Regions from separate parts of the Homo sapiens genome. Here region 1 is linked to region 2. The links are contacts of gene promoters, found by promoter capture Hi-C in blood cells and fetal thymus (Javierre and others, 2016). All regions are on one chromosome and are shown on one strand. Each heading gives the region's core, a stretch centred on a gene start or on the middle of the fragment in contact. The rest is flanking DNA. Distances are from core to core; before and after follow the strand shown.

Region 1 (3,944 bases), core at 1,280-3,779, 640 kb before region 2:
TTTCCTGAATCTGAATGTTGGCCTGCCTTGCTAGATTGGGGAAGTTCTCCTGGATAATATCCTGCAGAGTGTTTTCCAACTTGGTTCCATTCTCCCTGTCACTTTCAGGTACGCCAATCAGATGTAGATTTGGTCTTTTCACATAGTCCCATATTTCTTGGAGACTTTGTTCGTTTCTTTTTATTCTTTTTTCTCTAAACTTCCCTTCTCGCTTCATTTCATTCATTTCATCTGCCATCACTGAAACCCTTTCTTCCAGTTAATCACGTCAGCTCCTGAGGCTTCTGCATTCTTCACATAGTTCTCCAGCCTTGGCTTTCAGCTCCATCAGCTCCTTTAAGCACTTCTCTGCATTGGTTATTCTAGTTATACATTCGTCTAATTTTTTTCAAAGTTTTTAACTTCTTTGCCATTGGTTTGAATTTCCTCCTGTAGCTCGGAGTAGTTTGATCATCTGAAGCCTTCTTCTCCCAACTTGTCAAAGTCATTCTCCGTCCAGCTTTGTTCCGTTGCTGGTGAGGAGCTGCGTTCCTTTGGAGGAGGAGAGGCGCTCTGCTTTTTAGAGTTTCCAGTTTTTCTGCTCTGTTTTTTCCCCATCTTTGTAGTTTTATCTACTTTTGGTCTTTGATGATGGTGATGTACAGATGGGTTTTTGGTGTGGATGTCCTTTCTGTTTGTTAGTTTTCCTTCTAACAGACAGGACCCTCAGCTGCAGGTCTGTTGGAGTTTGCTAGAAGTCTACTCCAGACCCTGTTTGCCTGGGTATCAGCAGCGGTGGCTGCAGAACAGCGGTGGCTGTAGAACAGCGGGTTTTCATGAACCGCAAATGCTGCTGCCTGATCATTCCTCTGGAAGTTTTGTCTCAGAGGAGTACCCGGCCCTGTGAGGTGTCAGTCTGCCCCTACCGGGGGGTGCCTCCCAGTTAGGCTGCTCAGGGGTCAGGGACCCACTTGACGAGGCAGTCTGCCCGTTCTCAGATCTCCAGCTGCGTGCTGGGAGAACCACTACTCTCTTCAAAGCTGTCAGATAGGGACGTTTAAGTCTGTAGAGGTTACTGCTGTCTTTTTGTCTTTGCCCTGCCCCCAGAGGTGGAGCCTACAGAGGCAGGCAGGCCTCCTTGAGCTGTGGTGGGCTCCACCCACTTCGAGCTTCCTGGCTGCTTTGTTTACCTATGCAAGCCTGGGCAATGGCAGGCGCCCCTCCCCCAGCCTCGCTGCCACCTTGCAGTTTGATCTCAGACTGCTGTGCTAGCAATCAGTGAGACTCTGTGGGCGTAGGACCCTCCGAGCCATGTGCAGGATATAATCTCCTGGTGTGCCGTTTTTTAAGCCCGTTGGCAAAGTGCAGTATTAGGGTGGGAGTGACCCAATTTTCCAGGTGCTGTCTGTCACCCCTTTCTTTGACTAGGAAAGGGAACTCCCTGACCCCTTGCACTTCCTGAGTGAGGCAATGCCTCGCCCTGCTTCGGCTCGCACACAGTGCACTGCACCCACTGTCCTGCACCCACTGTCTGGCACTCCCTAGTGAGATGAACCCGGTACCTCAGATGGAAATGCAGAAATCACCCATCTTCTGCGTCGCTCACGCTGGAAGCTGTAGACCGGAGCTCTTCCTATTCAGCCATCTTGGCTACACCCCGCGCACCCCCCCTCCCCCCGCTGATATCATGGTATTAACAACTTTTTGTTGATACATTTGGCAACTTAGATTAAATGAACAAATTCTTTGAAAACACAACTTACCATATAAAAAAAGTAAAAAATACTGTAGTCTAATATTCATTTAAAAACTGAATCTGTAATTGAAAATTTTCCTACAAAGAAGCTTCCAGGGCCAGATAGCTTCACTGGAGAATTTCCACAAATATTTAAGGCAGAAACAGTGCTAATCTTATTTAAACTATTTCAGAAAAAAGAGAAATAAAAAACACCTCCAAACTTGCTTTACAAGACCAATATAAACCTGATTTTAAAAATCTGACATTTTATTATTATATTTTATAAGAAAGGAAAGAAAAAATTGCAGGCCAATATCACTCATAAGCATAAATGTGAAAATCCTAACTAAAATATTAGCAAATCAAACGTAGTGACATACAAAAATTATATATCATGACCACATGGTGTTTATTCTAAGAATGCAGTTACTTTAACATTATTTTAATGTAATTCACCACATTAACAGAATAAAGGAGAAAAAGCATATAATCATCTTGATAGATATAGAAACATTATTTGACAAATTCAACACTTTTTCAAATTAAACTACCAGAAAACAGGAATAGAAAGGAACTTTTCTAATCTAATGAAGGATATCTACAAAAACCCTTAGCTAACATCTTTTAACATAAACTAGTGAATGCTTTTCCTCTGAGGTTAGGAACAAGACAAGGCTACTATCGCTACTTCTATTCATCATCGTACTGAAGATCCTAGCCAGTGCAATATGGCAAGAAAAAAATTGAAAAGTATGAGACTTAAAACGAAAGAATAAAACTATTATTTGCTCACATACATGGTGATGTATGCAAAAAATTCAAAAGGGTCTATAAACAAACTATTAGAATTAATAAGCAAATTTGGAAAGGTCGTTTAAACAAGGTGACTTTTCAGAAATCAATTGTATATTTATATACTAGTAAAACAAATTGGAAATAGAACCTTAAAAACCACCATTTACAACTGAATTTTTAAAATCAAATAAGAATACATACAATGAAAAATTGCAAGATATCCACCCTATAAAACAGTGTTTAGAGAAATTAAATAAGACCTAAACACATGGATTTACATAAACACTTCATGTTTACAGATTGGAAGAATCAATATTGTTTCTCTCCAAATAGCAATCTCTCTCCAAATTGATCTACAGATTTTGTGACATCTCAATCAAAATACTGGAAGTAAATTGAAAAGCTGATTGTAAAATATACATATAAAAATGCAAAAAAAACCCAGAATAGCCAAAATGATGTTGAAGAAGAATAAAGTTGGAGGACTCGTACCATCAGATATACTTATTGTAAATCTACAGTAGTTAAGAAGACTATGTGGGTTTGGTGCAAAGACAGATAAATAGAAGAATGAAGTAGGATAGAGTCCAACAACAGACCCACACTTACATGGTCAACTGATTTTTGACAGTGGTGCCACTGCAATCCAGTGGGTGGAGAATGCCTTTTAAATAAATGGCCTAATGTCTTAGATCAATTGGATATTCATATGGGAAAAAAATGAAGCTTGATCCCTACCTCACACCAAAATTAATTTGAAATGGATTCTAGATCTACATGTGAAAAACAAAACAATAAAGCTTCCAAAAGAAAATACAGAATCATATCATTATGATATTGGGATAGTTAAAAAGTTGTTAGAACACCAAAGCCATTACCCATAAAATAGGCCTCATTAAAATTAAGAACTTCTGTTCATTAAAAGACATCAGGAGCGTGAAAAGGCAAAATATACACTGGGATAAGATATTGGCAATACATATATCTGAGAAATCAATAAAACAAAAAACAATTAAACTTTGGGCATAAAACTTAAGCACTTCACAAGAAAGGATATTCAAATGGCCAATCAACACATGAGAAGGTGTTCAACATTATCACTCATCAGGAAAAAGTCAATTGAAACCACAATGAACATCACTACAAACTTTCTAGAATGAGTAAAAAGAAAAAGATTGTGAATATTAAGTGTTGGCAAGAACGTGGCACACCTGGAACTCACTCATGTATTGTTTTTGAGAGTGTAAATTGATACAATTACTTTGGAGAACTGTTTGGAAATTTCGTATTAAGTGTACACCAAATTTTGATATTTACAGCTAAAAGCATTCTAACTGTTGCAAATAGGGTCATATTGCTTATATTATTTTGAGCATGTGCTTTCATTTTACAATATACCATGAACATTTTCATCCGTCAATAACTTTTTCCA
Region 2 (4,030 bases), core at 515-3,014:
GCACACCACAGCGAGGTTATTGCATAATTAATGCTCAGTCCCCATCTCAGCCTCTGAGAGTGACACAGGTTACAAGATTCACCTGCCCCGCATCTGGGAGAGGAGCAGGGGCACCCAGGATGGGGAATGACCTCCCTGTGGGCTCAGAGGAGGATGTTCTTAGGACCCCAGAGGCATGGCAAAGGGACAGTGTGTGGCTGAAAGAGCTTGAGTCAGTGTGTGCCCAGGGCCCTCACGCCTGCCATTGTGTTTAGGACTTGGGCTTTAATCTCTGGAGCGAGATTCAAATCCTGCCTCAACTACTGATTGGCTATATGGCATTAAGCACTCGCCTTACATTTTTAAAGCCTCCATCTCCTTGTCTTTTAAAGAAGGGAATTGATGATGTTATGAAAACTGGATGAGAGAGTTTGCATATTGGTTAGATGGTTCCTGCAGTACTATTTTCATTATTTCCCTCTCTGAGCCTCAGTGTCTTCATCTGTAAAATGGGAATAATTAGCCTCACCTTGCCTAGGCTTGAAAGATCAGCCGGTAGTTTGAGACCTGCCTGGGCAATATAGCAAGACCCTGTTCACCACAAAAAAGGAAAAAAAAAAGGATGAAAGATCAGTTTGTGAGTCAAGTAAGACACACATGTGAACGGGATGTGTGGAGTGCTTTGCTAACGCGCCATTGTCTTAGTTACTATGTGCCTGGTTTTCTGCTCAACCCTCCAGGGTACGACTTTGTACAAGTCCCCAGGTCTCAACAGGACAGTGGGTGATCAGCCCACCTGAGAAGTGAAACTCATGATTTGGGTGAGTAGACTAGAGGAGAATCACTTCTTTCTTTCTTTTTTTTTAGACGGAGTCTCGCTGTGTCACCCAGGGATCTCAGCTCACTGCAACCTCTGCCTCACCGGTTCCAGTGATTCTCCTGCCTCAGCCCCCCGAGTAGCTGGGATTACAGGCACACGCCACCACACCTGGCTAATTTGTTATTATTAGTAGAAACGGGGTTTCACCATGTTAGCCAGGCTGGTCTTGAACTCTTGACCTCAGACGATCCACCTGCCTCAGCCTCCCAAAGTGCTGGGATTACAGGCATGAGCCACCATGCCCGGCCTGAGAATCATTTCTTGAGCTATGATCTGTAACATTCAAATGAGCCTCAACGGACACAAAACAGAAAAATCATCAAAAATGTCGGTGAAAAGTTCAGGTGGGAGAACTCAGGTGATGGTGCAGACAGAAGCAAGTAGGGGAGAAAGCTGGCTTCAGGGAGAGTGGTTAGGCCTTTGTGAGAAAGACTGGGGACTTCTCATATCATCCTCTGTGTCCCAGTTCCCAAAACACACACGCACATGGGCACATGCATGCAGGCACACAAAAACAAGCCCATACACCAGACGAAAAAATACAGATGCAGGTACACACACATGGACATGGACATGTGTGTGCCTGTGCCCATATAAACAAACATTAGTGCACACACACACTCACACACACACAGGCTCGGGCAGTATGTGCTCACACACAACCATACACACAGATACGCACAGAGGTACATTCACACACAGACCAACACACACAGGCACACAGATGCATGCACGCATGCACGTGCGCGCACACACACACACACGTGCACCCACCCTCAGTGATAACCTTCCAATCCACTGGCCTCTCCGAAATTAGCACAGACCATTTTCCCACGACCCTTTCTCGCTGAGCGTGTGATTCCAAAACTGTCCACAAGAAGGTGCTCGGGAGCCAGAATTCAGGCGTTCCCGGCCCGCGGACGCTTAGAGAGGGGAGCTTCGGAGTTATGGGGGGACCCACCCTTCCATTTAATAACTGAGAAAGCCACGGGAGGGGACTTGCTGGGCTCACAGCCAGTGATCCCTGCCCTGTTTCCTTATGGGGACTGCGGTCAGAAATGGGGAGTGGGGCAGAAACTGTCACTGTCACGGTCCTGTTTAGAGAGGAAGGTCGGAGAAACCAGTGCCGTGGAAGGCTCTGGGGCGTTGACAGGCGCTGTCCCCAGCTCACCGGCTCTATGACCCTGGGTAAGTTACCTGGCTTCTCTGTTCCTCAGTTTTCTCGTCTTCCCTGACCCAGGCTTTCCCGACTCCTCTAGGGGCCCCTTCCCCTCTCCATGAACACCTTCAGATCTCGGACTGTTTTCTCCACTCAAGTGGCATCTCAGCTATCCCCTCCCGGGTTAGGCCTCCCTGGCCCCTATTTAACGGTGTCCCCACCCCCACCACTATCTTGTTTGTACCAACACTTGCTGCCTGACAATGCACACTTGTTCATTTGTTCACGTTTATTTTGTCTTCTCCAGAAGAATGGAAACTTCGTCAGAGCAGGGACGTGAGGGTGAACTGCTCACCCGGGCACCGCTGGCGACCGGAACCCAGCTCCCTCCGGGCTCCGGGAGAGGCGGCCTCAGCTGTGTGCTGGTGCTGCCCTCCAGCGGCGCTGGGTCCCCATGGCACCTGGCTTTCTCCTGCTCCCCAGGGGCCTTTTCTTCTCCCGCCCACCTGTCACCAGCCGCCAGGGCAAGTCTCTGTGTGACTCTAGGGTGAAGGTGGAGGGACCTTGCCTCCGAGGATTCATCCCACCCGGATTCCGATGAGTGAGGGACCCTCTCTGGCACCTGGTGTTTGAATGGCCAGCCTCACAGTTAATAAAGACAAGTTTGGTATCAGCTGTGGGATCCGTCCAGAAAAAGACACCTTTGGGGCAGAAATATAATGGTGCCTGTCTCGACATAGTCTAATAAGGAAAGAAAGACAAGCCAGTCCAACGGTCCCATTTTACACATGAGGTCACTTCATCCCCACCTAGGACAGGAGGGTACAACGGCCTGGCCTAAGATAACCCTAGAATATGGTCACTCATTCTTCCACCCACTGAGAACCTCAGGGCAGTAGAGTTTTATGCAAAGCATGTGGTCCTGAAAAACTTGCATAATTCAAAGCGTGCATAATTTCTGACTAATTTTGCCAGAGAAATGAATGCAAAGTAGAAAGGATAGGTTGCATACATTACTCCAATTGTGGCATATTTTTGCCTTAATGCTGCTTTTTATTTCCCTGGCATTATCGCTAATATTTCATAACGCACTCTCTGCTAAATTAACAGTGCAGCATTTCCTGCCGGTGGTTTGGCCTTCTTCATAACGTTTTATCACATCTCACTTCCTTTCCAATGTTATCGATTTTCAGGTGCGTTTTTCAGCACCACCACTTAAAGAACACTTGGATGACATTGTTACAGGATATGGGTAAAATATTTAAAGTTATAATAACTGTGAACATTGAGAAAATGGCACACCAGTCACCAGAATCTCCTGCAGAAATTAGAAATTCAGAGGCATGTAAACAACAGTGCATGCATATAGAAAGCAGGTATTTCTATTTAATAACCAAAGCAACGTCGCCATGTGGCAGGTTTACAGTCCTCATTTAACAGCTCACTTAGTTCCTCCGACTCAAGGAAACTGCAATTCTTGACAGGTTTTTTTTTAACTGAGGGGCTTGGCATTATTTCCAGCTTAGTGCATAAACATGTATTAGCATTTTTATATTGCACCTTGCCAAAGTCACAGTTTAGACTCCCATAAACAGTGACTTCACCCTAAATGGTCACCCTAAATGGTTAAGGCTGTGTCCTTAACCCCAGAAGGGTGGAAATGTATGACTCCACCTAGTCATCTCAGATACGGATTTCAGAAATCTCAGCCACCCACCTCATACTTACACAGGGACCTTTTTGGAGGCAGCATCATCTGAGGCCGCTCTTGCCCAATTTGGCTGGCCCCACCTCCTCCCCAACGTCATCTTCTCTTGCAGTCTAGAGAGGGGGGCTACTCCCCCAATATAGCATCCATATTTAGATCCATGTTGGAGGGTGGGTAGAAAGGGGAGGTAGGATGAGGGAAAATTGAGTCTCAGTTTCACACATTTGTAAGATCGTCAGACTTTCCACATTGCCAAGAAACTCGTCAGCACAACCGCTGTGAATTGGCTTCTTGGCCTTCGTCT

Evidence for each region. The method cuts DNA at HindIII sites, captures the fragments that hold promoters and counts their contacts. A CHiCAGO score of 5 or more calls a contact.
Region 1: a contact is called between a fragment that was not itself captured here and the fragment with the promoter of LINC02716 in region 2, in 1 of 17 cell types (M2 macrophages). The highest score is 5.7, in M2 macrophages.

The regions. Positions count from the first base shown.
Region 1 is chr11:45,126,860-45,130,803 of GRCh38, forward strand. All of the region lies in intron 3 of LOC105376652 (a long non-coding RNA gene), which reads right to left. It also overlaps a transcript of PRDM11 not described here. Among named protein-coding and RNA genes, the nearest start is that of PRDM11, 18 kb to the right of the region's middle. RefSeq lists enhancers at 758-1,258, 1,259-1,759. The HindIII fragment of the contact is 1,414 bases long and covers 1,823-3,236 here.
Region 2 is chr11:45,769,668-45,773,697 of GRCh38, forward strand. It overlaps LINC02716 (long intergenic non-protein coding RNA 2716), which reads left to right and starts at 1,765. Exons shown (of 2, transcript NR_027134.1): 1 at 1,765-2,047; 2 at 2,326-2,691. RefSeq lists an enhancer at 1,457-1,958. The HindIII fragment of the contact is 20,811 bases long and covers 1-4,030 here.